2 separate regions of the Homo sapiens genome follow, and region 1 is linked to region 2. The links are contacts of gene promoters, found by promoter capture Hi-C in human tissues and cell types (Jung and others, 2019). All regions are on one chromosome and are shown on one strand. Each heading gives the region's core, a stretch centred on a gene start or on the middle of the fragment in contact. The rest is flanking DNA. Distances are from core to core; before and after follow the strand shown. Region 1 overlaps USP3 (ubiquitin specific peptidase 3). Region 2 holds the start of SNX22 (sorting nexin 22).

Region 1 (3,542 bases), core at 260-2,759, 630 kb before region 2:
CCTCGCCTCCACTCTCAGTCCTGCTGTCCACAGACAATCTCTGTAGGCTCTATTTAGCATTCTCTCTCATATTTACCTGCATAATTCTAACCAATGCTCTGTTATTTCTTAATTTGTCATTTTTAGGTATTATTCCTTGATATCTTGCTGTGGTAAATGAAGACTTCAGTGTTTGCACCACTTGCCCTTCAGTCTCTCCATTTCCCAATATAATTAGATTACATATTTTGGTTACTATAGTGATTCATTTTTCTTTCTTGTCCAACATTTTATTTTTTCTTGAGTCAATAATTGCCTCTTTTAAAAATTGCTTAGTTTACCTTAGACACATTTTCTCTTAAATGTTCCTTTAAACCTGTCAAAGGTCTGTGAATATTATTTTTTAACCCATTCAACGGATTAGATAATCTCCAAGCACTAACTCTTTTCTAAAATCCTTTCCAGAGCCCTCTGACCTCTGCTGTCATTTGAAATAGTTCTCCAGGCTGGACAGTTTTTATCGTGTGATTCCCTCTGTTGTTCTCTTATAATATTAGATCCCTTATTTCTTGGATCCCATGTCTTGTTTTTCTTGGTTTATTTCATTGTTTTGCTGGAGTACATCAAGCTCCTTTCTCACAGGAGGTAATTTTTTTTTCTCTAATTGCATGGCACATTAAGGGAGGTAAATTTTTGAGCCTTTGCAAGTCTGACATTTTTATTTTACCTTTATACTTGATTGCTTGGCTGAATAGAAAATATTAGTAAGAAAATAATTTTCCTTTAGAGTTTTAAAGGCATTGTTGGTTTGTTTCTAGGCTCCCAGAGTTGCTGTTGAGAAACCTGATGCCTTCCTGATTTCCTCCTCCACATATGTCCTTTTATTCTTTTTCCTATAATTCTTTAAGGTATTCTTTTCATCCTCTGTATTCTGAAATTTCAAAATATGGCTGGGCATGGGTAGTTTTTTTTTTATTTTATTTTTAATAGGAAGTGAAGGGATTTTTTTATGTATAGGTTCACATCCTTGAGTTAAAAGACATTTTTTTGTACTATAAATTTGATAGTGTGCTCCTCCCCCCATACTTATATCCCCCAATTTATTCTTTTTTTTCTTTCTGGAACTCTTATTAGTTGGATGTTGGGTGTCCTGAGTGTAGTCTCTGATTTTCTTATTTCTTTGCCTTTTGGTTCTAGTTTCTGGTATATTTCCTTGATTTTTTTTTTTATTATATTATACTTTAAGTTTTAGGGTACATGTGCACAATGTGCAGGTAAGTTATATATGTATACATGTGCCATGTTGGTGTGCTGCACCCATTAACTCGTCATTAGGCTTATTTAACATTAGGTATATCTCCTAATGCTATCCCTCCCCACTCCCCCCAATTTCCTTGATATTTTTTCTTCCATTCCTTCTGTTGAATTTTGATCATTGTATTTAAAAATTTTAAGAGCTCTTTCTCATTTCCCAATCATTCCTTTTTCACATATCCTCTTGCTATTGTTTTGCAGTATCTTCTCTTACCACTCCAGCAGTTCAGAGTATGTTGGTTTTGAAGTTTTGCTGTGCTCCCTGTATGGTTTCTATTTCTCCTGGGTTCCTCTTTTTCTTTTTAAAATGATTCTTTCAGATTGGAGGTTTTCTATAAAGATCTGTTTTGTCTTTGTCTTTTCATATAACAGTGAACTTTTTCATGTAAAAAGCTTTGTAACTGGGTGGGGCTTGTCCACAGTGGGCTTCACTGTGAGGTGGGGAGCAAGTCACCTTCATTGGAGGAAGACACTCATATCTGTGCTGAGAATTTTTTCTGGTACCATTGAGTTTTTCGGTTTTCCCTCTGGGAGGTGGGCACCTGGCCACTGATGTTCTGAGATCAGATTGCAGAAGTTCCATGACTCAGTTGTCCTTAGAGTCCCTAGTCTCCTTGTGTTCAGTCCTGTCCTTACCTGCTGTCTGCTGTGTCCCTATACCTAGAGCTCCTCCCATCTGCATTCTTCCTGGCTGACACTCAGGCCATAGCTTCCTCTGCACTACTAAGATTGTTATTGCTCCCCTAACTTCTTTCTCACTTACAAAAAGCTGTTGAAATCTTTTGTCTGCTTTGGTTACCTCACACTGTTCTCTTTATCTTTGTGGGTTTGTATCTGTTTTTTTCCTTTATTGTCATTTAAGTGGGTCTTAGGTGGGAGAAGAGCTAAGTAGAATTTGCCACGTTTAGTTTAGTGTCCATTTTTAAATGTATATCATTTGTAATCCTGTTTTTAGGGCACAGTGTTTTGCCCTATCAGAAATGGATCTTATTAGTTACTCAGAGTTAAATCATTGAACTGAAATTTTACATTAATCTATTTGAATAAAAATTTATATTCAGATTTACCTTCTCTGATAAATAGAACAAAATATTGTTGCTGTTATCAGAGTCAGCAGAGAAAATAGGCAAGCCAGGGGGTTCGACCTTGCTTGGAAAGTCAGATCACAAGCCAGGCTTTGGATAGGTATATGCCTGTGAAAGAAAGTTGTAAGGTCATTGGGACTACTGCAGTTAATGCATTGTAATACTTTTATTGGACTAGCTCATCATTCATTAATGAAGGCAAGTTAGTGCCAGGTTTATAGGATTTTTGGCTCTGTACATTGGTAATTTAACCTTCTCCCTTGTGTTTTAGTTTTTAAAAAGTATGATCTTAATTGGAAGTAAAGGACACAGATTTTTAATCTCAGAATTTAAAAAGACTTTTGATTTTGATATAATTTTATACTCAGAGAAACACTGCTAAGAATAGTACATACAAAGAACTTCCGTATACTTAGATTTGCCAGTCGTTCACATTTTGCCTCATTTGTTTTATCATGTATATATTTACTCTCTGTTTATATATTTCCCCTTATTAATTTACAGATATAACACTCCTTTATCCATAGTTTTGTTTTTCCCCAAGAACAGGTCTCTTTTTTTTTTGGGACGGAGTCTTGCTCCGTTGCCCAGGCTGGAGTGCAGTGGCGTGATCTCGGCTCACTGCAAGCTCCGCCTCCCAGGTTCACAGCATTCTCCTGCCTCAGCCTCCTGAGTAGCTGGGACTACTGGCACTCACCACCACGCCCGGCTAATTTTTTGTATTTTTAGTAGATATGGGGTTTCACCGTGTTAACCAGGATGGTCTGGATCTCTTGACCTCATGATCTGCCCGCCTCAGCATCCCAAAGTGCTGGGATTACAAGCGTGAGCCACCGCGCCTGGCCGGGTCTTTCTTTTCAATCAGCAGAGAATATTGGTCAAATCAGGACAGTTGATACTGATAGAATGCTGTTACCTAATGCACATTCCATGTTCAGATTTCCTCAATTGTCCCAACAATGGCCTTCATAGCTATTACTCCTTTCTGTTTACCTCCCCAGCCACCCTGGATCTAATCCAGGATCATGTGTTATATTTAGTTGTCATAGCTCTTTAGTTTTCTTTCATCTCCAATAGTTCCTCAGCCTTTGTTTTTCATGTCTTGGCTTTTGGCTTTTTTTTTTTCTATTCTAACATCATAATGTCTTGTTATTTTTGAAGAGT
Region 2 (3,681 bases), core at 1,178-3,677:
TCCGTCTCTACAAAAAATACAAAAATTAGCTGGGTGTGGTGGTGCGCACCTGTAGTCCCAGTTACTCAGGAGGCTGAGGTGGGAAAATCACCTAAGCTGCAGTGAGCCCTGTGGTTGCGTCACTGCACTCCAGCCTGGGTGACTGGAGTGAGGCCCTGTCTCAAAAAAAAAAACAAAAACAAAAACAAACAAACAAAAAAAAACCTTTTTGAGTTGAGTTTTAGGCTAAGAATTGGAGGATGAGCTCAATCCTTGAAGAGTCAAGGAAGGGTGCCCCCAGGTGGAGCAAACAGCCTAATGCAAAGGCCCTGAGGCAGGAAAGAGCTTGTCAGGTTGGAAGAGCCTAGTGCATGATGGGGAGAGGAGAGGAAATGAGGTGGAAGATGGAGGCTGGGCTGGGTTGTTTACAGCTTTGTGGATTGCATAGAGAGAGTGGGTTTTATTCTAAGTGCAGTGGGAAACATTGGAAGGTTTTAAGCACATGCCTTGATAACAGTTTGTGCTGCAGGGTAGAGAATGGACGTTCTATTGGGGATGAAGGCAGGAAAAAATGGAGACTCACAGACAGAGGGGCAGACAGTCATTAGGATGAGGACCAAGAAGTCTGAGGATCCCAGGAGAGGCCTCCCTGGACAGTGGGAGTTGGGGAGGCCCTGTAGGCCAGGGAAAGCTGGGTCCCTGAATGATGGGGCCGTAGGGAGGAAATGAAAGCACAGCACTTCTCCTCACTCTGGGCTGCTTTTCTTCTAGGGGACCCCACTAGAATCTGGGAAGTTTCAGCTTCCTGATTCTGTGGTCCTTGTGTGATGCAATTTGGAAAAAGAGAATGTGGGACATGATATTGGTGAGACCTGTTTGCCCCATTTTGGGGTCGTCATCTCAGCCCTTCTCTGGGGGCAGGGCTGGGGATGGAGGTTTTTTGCTCCAGCTCAGAGGCGTCTCTGCAGAAGCAGGGGAGGGGTGAGTCCCCTCAACCCCAGCCCCGAAGACAGGCACTCTGCTTCCTCCTGCCCACCCCAAGACCTCCCACTACGTATGAGCTTTGGAAGGCAGGGCCTCGCCTCTCTGCATGTCACGGGGCCTTTGTGGGGGAAGTCAGTGGAGTAGAGGACCTGCCATGGTGCTGCTGATAGCAGCTCTCCGACAGCTGAAGGGTGCAGGGCTGAGAGGTGGGAGCAGAGGTCCTTTCCAGCACATGGCCTGAGAGAGTTCTGGATCAAAATCCTGCCACATATCCAGGAAGAACCTGCCCGGAGGGGTGGACAAGAGCAACCCGGTGCCACCCCCCAAAGTCTCTCTTCCCATCCACTGCCCTGTGCCCACTTATCCTAGTCATCCAGGAGAAGCCCACAGTCAAGCTGCTGCTCAATGCTTCTGTTAAGGGCCTAACATGAATCATCTCACTTTTTTTTTTTTTTAAGACAGAGTCTTGCTGTTGCCCAGTCTGGAGTGCAATGGTTTGATCTCGGCTCACTGCAACCTCCGCCTCTCAGGTTCAAGTGATTCTCCCGCCTCAGCCTCCTGAGTAGCTGGGATTACAGGCATGTGCCACCACACCTGGTTGATTTTTGTATTTTTAGTAGGTACGGGGTTTCACCATGTTGGTCAGGCTGGTCTCGAACTCCTGACCTCAGGTGATCCGCCTACCTCGGCCTCCCAAAGTGCTGGGATTACAGGCGTGAGCCACCGCGCCCGGCCAAATCATCTCACTTTATACACTTGCCTGAAGGAGCCACGTTATCCCTATTTTGCAGATGAGCAAAGGTCTACGGAGCTCCTGAAATCCAGGCAGTCTGACGTCCAAATCGGAGTCTAGGTCCCTAAACTGCCTCTTCCCCACAAACAGCCTGGAGCCCCTTAGGGTTGGAAGATATGAGTGAATGGATGGATGAAAACAATGAATGAATGGGGGGGCCTGTGGATGCTGGGGAAAGGGGCATCAAAGCTGGACTGGGTCCAAGCCTTGCTCAGGTGTGGCCTCAGCCGGGGAATCCAGATCACAATTTCAGGGACCAGGCTGAAAGGAGGGAAAGGCTCGGGAAGGGACTGAGGAACCCAAGACAGGTCCCTGGTTGGCCCCAGGACCGGCGCTGAGGCCCGGGCCCCGCCTCCGTCCGCGCCTGGAGCCACAGGCCGTCCTTGGTAGGCGCTTAACTCAGGTTGGGTGACATTTTCGCTCGCCAGTTCCTGGCATCAGTGAGTGCTCCGTCAATGTTTGACAAACGGTTGACTCCACTGCCCCGCGCTGTGGGCGCACTAGACTTCGGGGGCGGCGTCCAGGTCCCGCCTAATCTTCTAGGCTCAGGACCCGCGGCGCAAGGGAACGCCCGGGGCGGGGTCGCCTGGGGGCGGGGCCTGGGGTGGGGCCTGCGGACCGAGGGGGCGGAGCCGGCCGCCCCGGGGTCCTCAGTCCGCTCCGGGAGAGTTAGGGCTCCGAGCCGAGCGCGCGGAGCAGCTGGGGCCGGGGCGCGGATGCTGGAAGTTCACATCCCGTCGGTGGGGCCCGAGGCCGAGGGGCCCAGGCAGAGCCCGGAGAAAAGCCACATGGTGAGCGCGGCCCCTGGATGGGGAGGGGCGCCGGGACCCGCAGGATTTCCCCGCGCTGCGCTCAGTGGGGACCCGGGGCCCGGGCCTGGGTGAACGAGCGCTGCGGGCTGGACCGTCGGGGGAAACCTTGTCGAGGGTTTGGGGGCCGCTTGGATTTGCCAGCCTCGCGGACCATGGTTCGAGCTCTTGAGGGACCCCAGGGCTCCGAGGGGCAGGTCCGCCAGCCGGTTCTCCCAGGTGTGCGGGAGCGGAGAGTCCCCGGGCAGCCGCGGCGCCGCAAGGCCGCTTTGTGCCTTTGAGAGCGGGAGGGTGGGCACGTCGCCAGGCGCAGGTGCTGCGGCGTCCTCCCGCGGGGCCTCACGCGCAGACCCGCTGCCCGCCCGCGCCGCCAGGTGTTCCGAGTGGAGGTGCTGTGCAGCGGGCGCAGACACACGGTGCCAAGGCGCTACAGCGAGTTCCACGCGCTGCACAAGCGGGTGAGGCGGCGCCGACCTCCCACCGGCCCCGGCCCAGCCTCTGTCCAGCCCCCGCCCAGGCCCTGTGAGGCGGGCGGGCGAGCCCCAGCCTCCGCCACCCCCATTACTGCCTCAGTCCCTGCGCAGCCGGTCAGCCCCCGGGCCTCTGTGGGTGGGTTGGGGCCTTCCTCGCCCTCGGCCGGTCCACCACTCACCAGGGTCTGTCCCAGTAGAGCCCGAAGGCGGGGGCGCGGGAGGGCTTCTGGCTGGGGCGAAGAGGGCTTGAGGGCTCAGTCGGGATGCTGTGATCGCACGCGGTAAACCTCCAGTAGATCAAGAAGCTGTACAAAGTGCCCGACTTCCCCTCGAAACGCCTGCCCAACTGGAGGACCAGAGGGTTGGAACAGCGCCGGCAGGGCTTGGAGGCTTACATCCAGGTATGCGAGAGCACAGTTGGTTGCCCCCCGGCCTTCTGTGCCAGGGGTGTGGCCCAGACAGAGAGGTGTGGGGGCATGGCAGGGAGGGAACCCACAACTTGGGGATGTTATTCACCACCTCAAGCATCAATTTTCTGAGTCTAATATAGGTCCAAACACCCCCCTCTGGCTTGTTGAAAGGACTGAAAGAGGTAACGGACACAGGTAGTCCCAGCTCCATGAAACCCAGGTCCTGTCCCCTC

What was found. Contacts are between HindIII fragments. The study calls those that stand out against the background at their distance.
Region 1: a contact is called between a fragment that was not itself captured here and the fragment with the promoter of SNX22 in region 2, in 1 of the 25 tissues and cell types used here (lymphoblastoid cells).

What each region holds. Positions count from the first base shown.
Region 1 is chr15:63,515,842-63,519,383 of GRCh38, forward strand. The region is part of intron 1 of USP3 (ubiquitin specific peptidase 3); the gene reads left to right. Among named protein-coding and RNA genes, the nearest start is that of USP3, 13 kb to the left of the region's middle. The HindIII fragment of the contact is 5,951 bases long and covers 1-3,542 here.
Region 2 is chr15:64,149,304-64,152,984 of GRCh38, forward strand. SNX22 (sorting nexin 22) reads left to right here and starts at 2,428. Exons shown (of 7, transcript NM_024798.3): 1 at 2,428-2,547; 2 at 2,940-3,023; 3 at 3,335-3,439. The coding sequence starts at 2,473. RefSeq lists an enhancer at 1,087-1,196 and silencers at 2,114-2,553, 2,754-3,133. The HindIII fragment of the contact is 9,247 bases long and covers 1-3,681 here.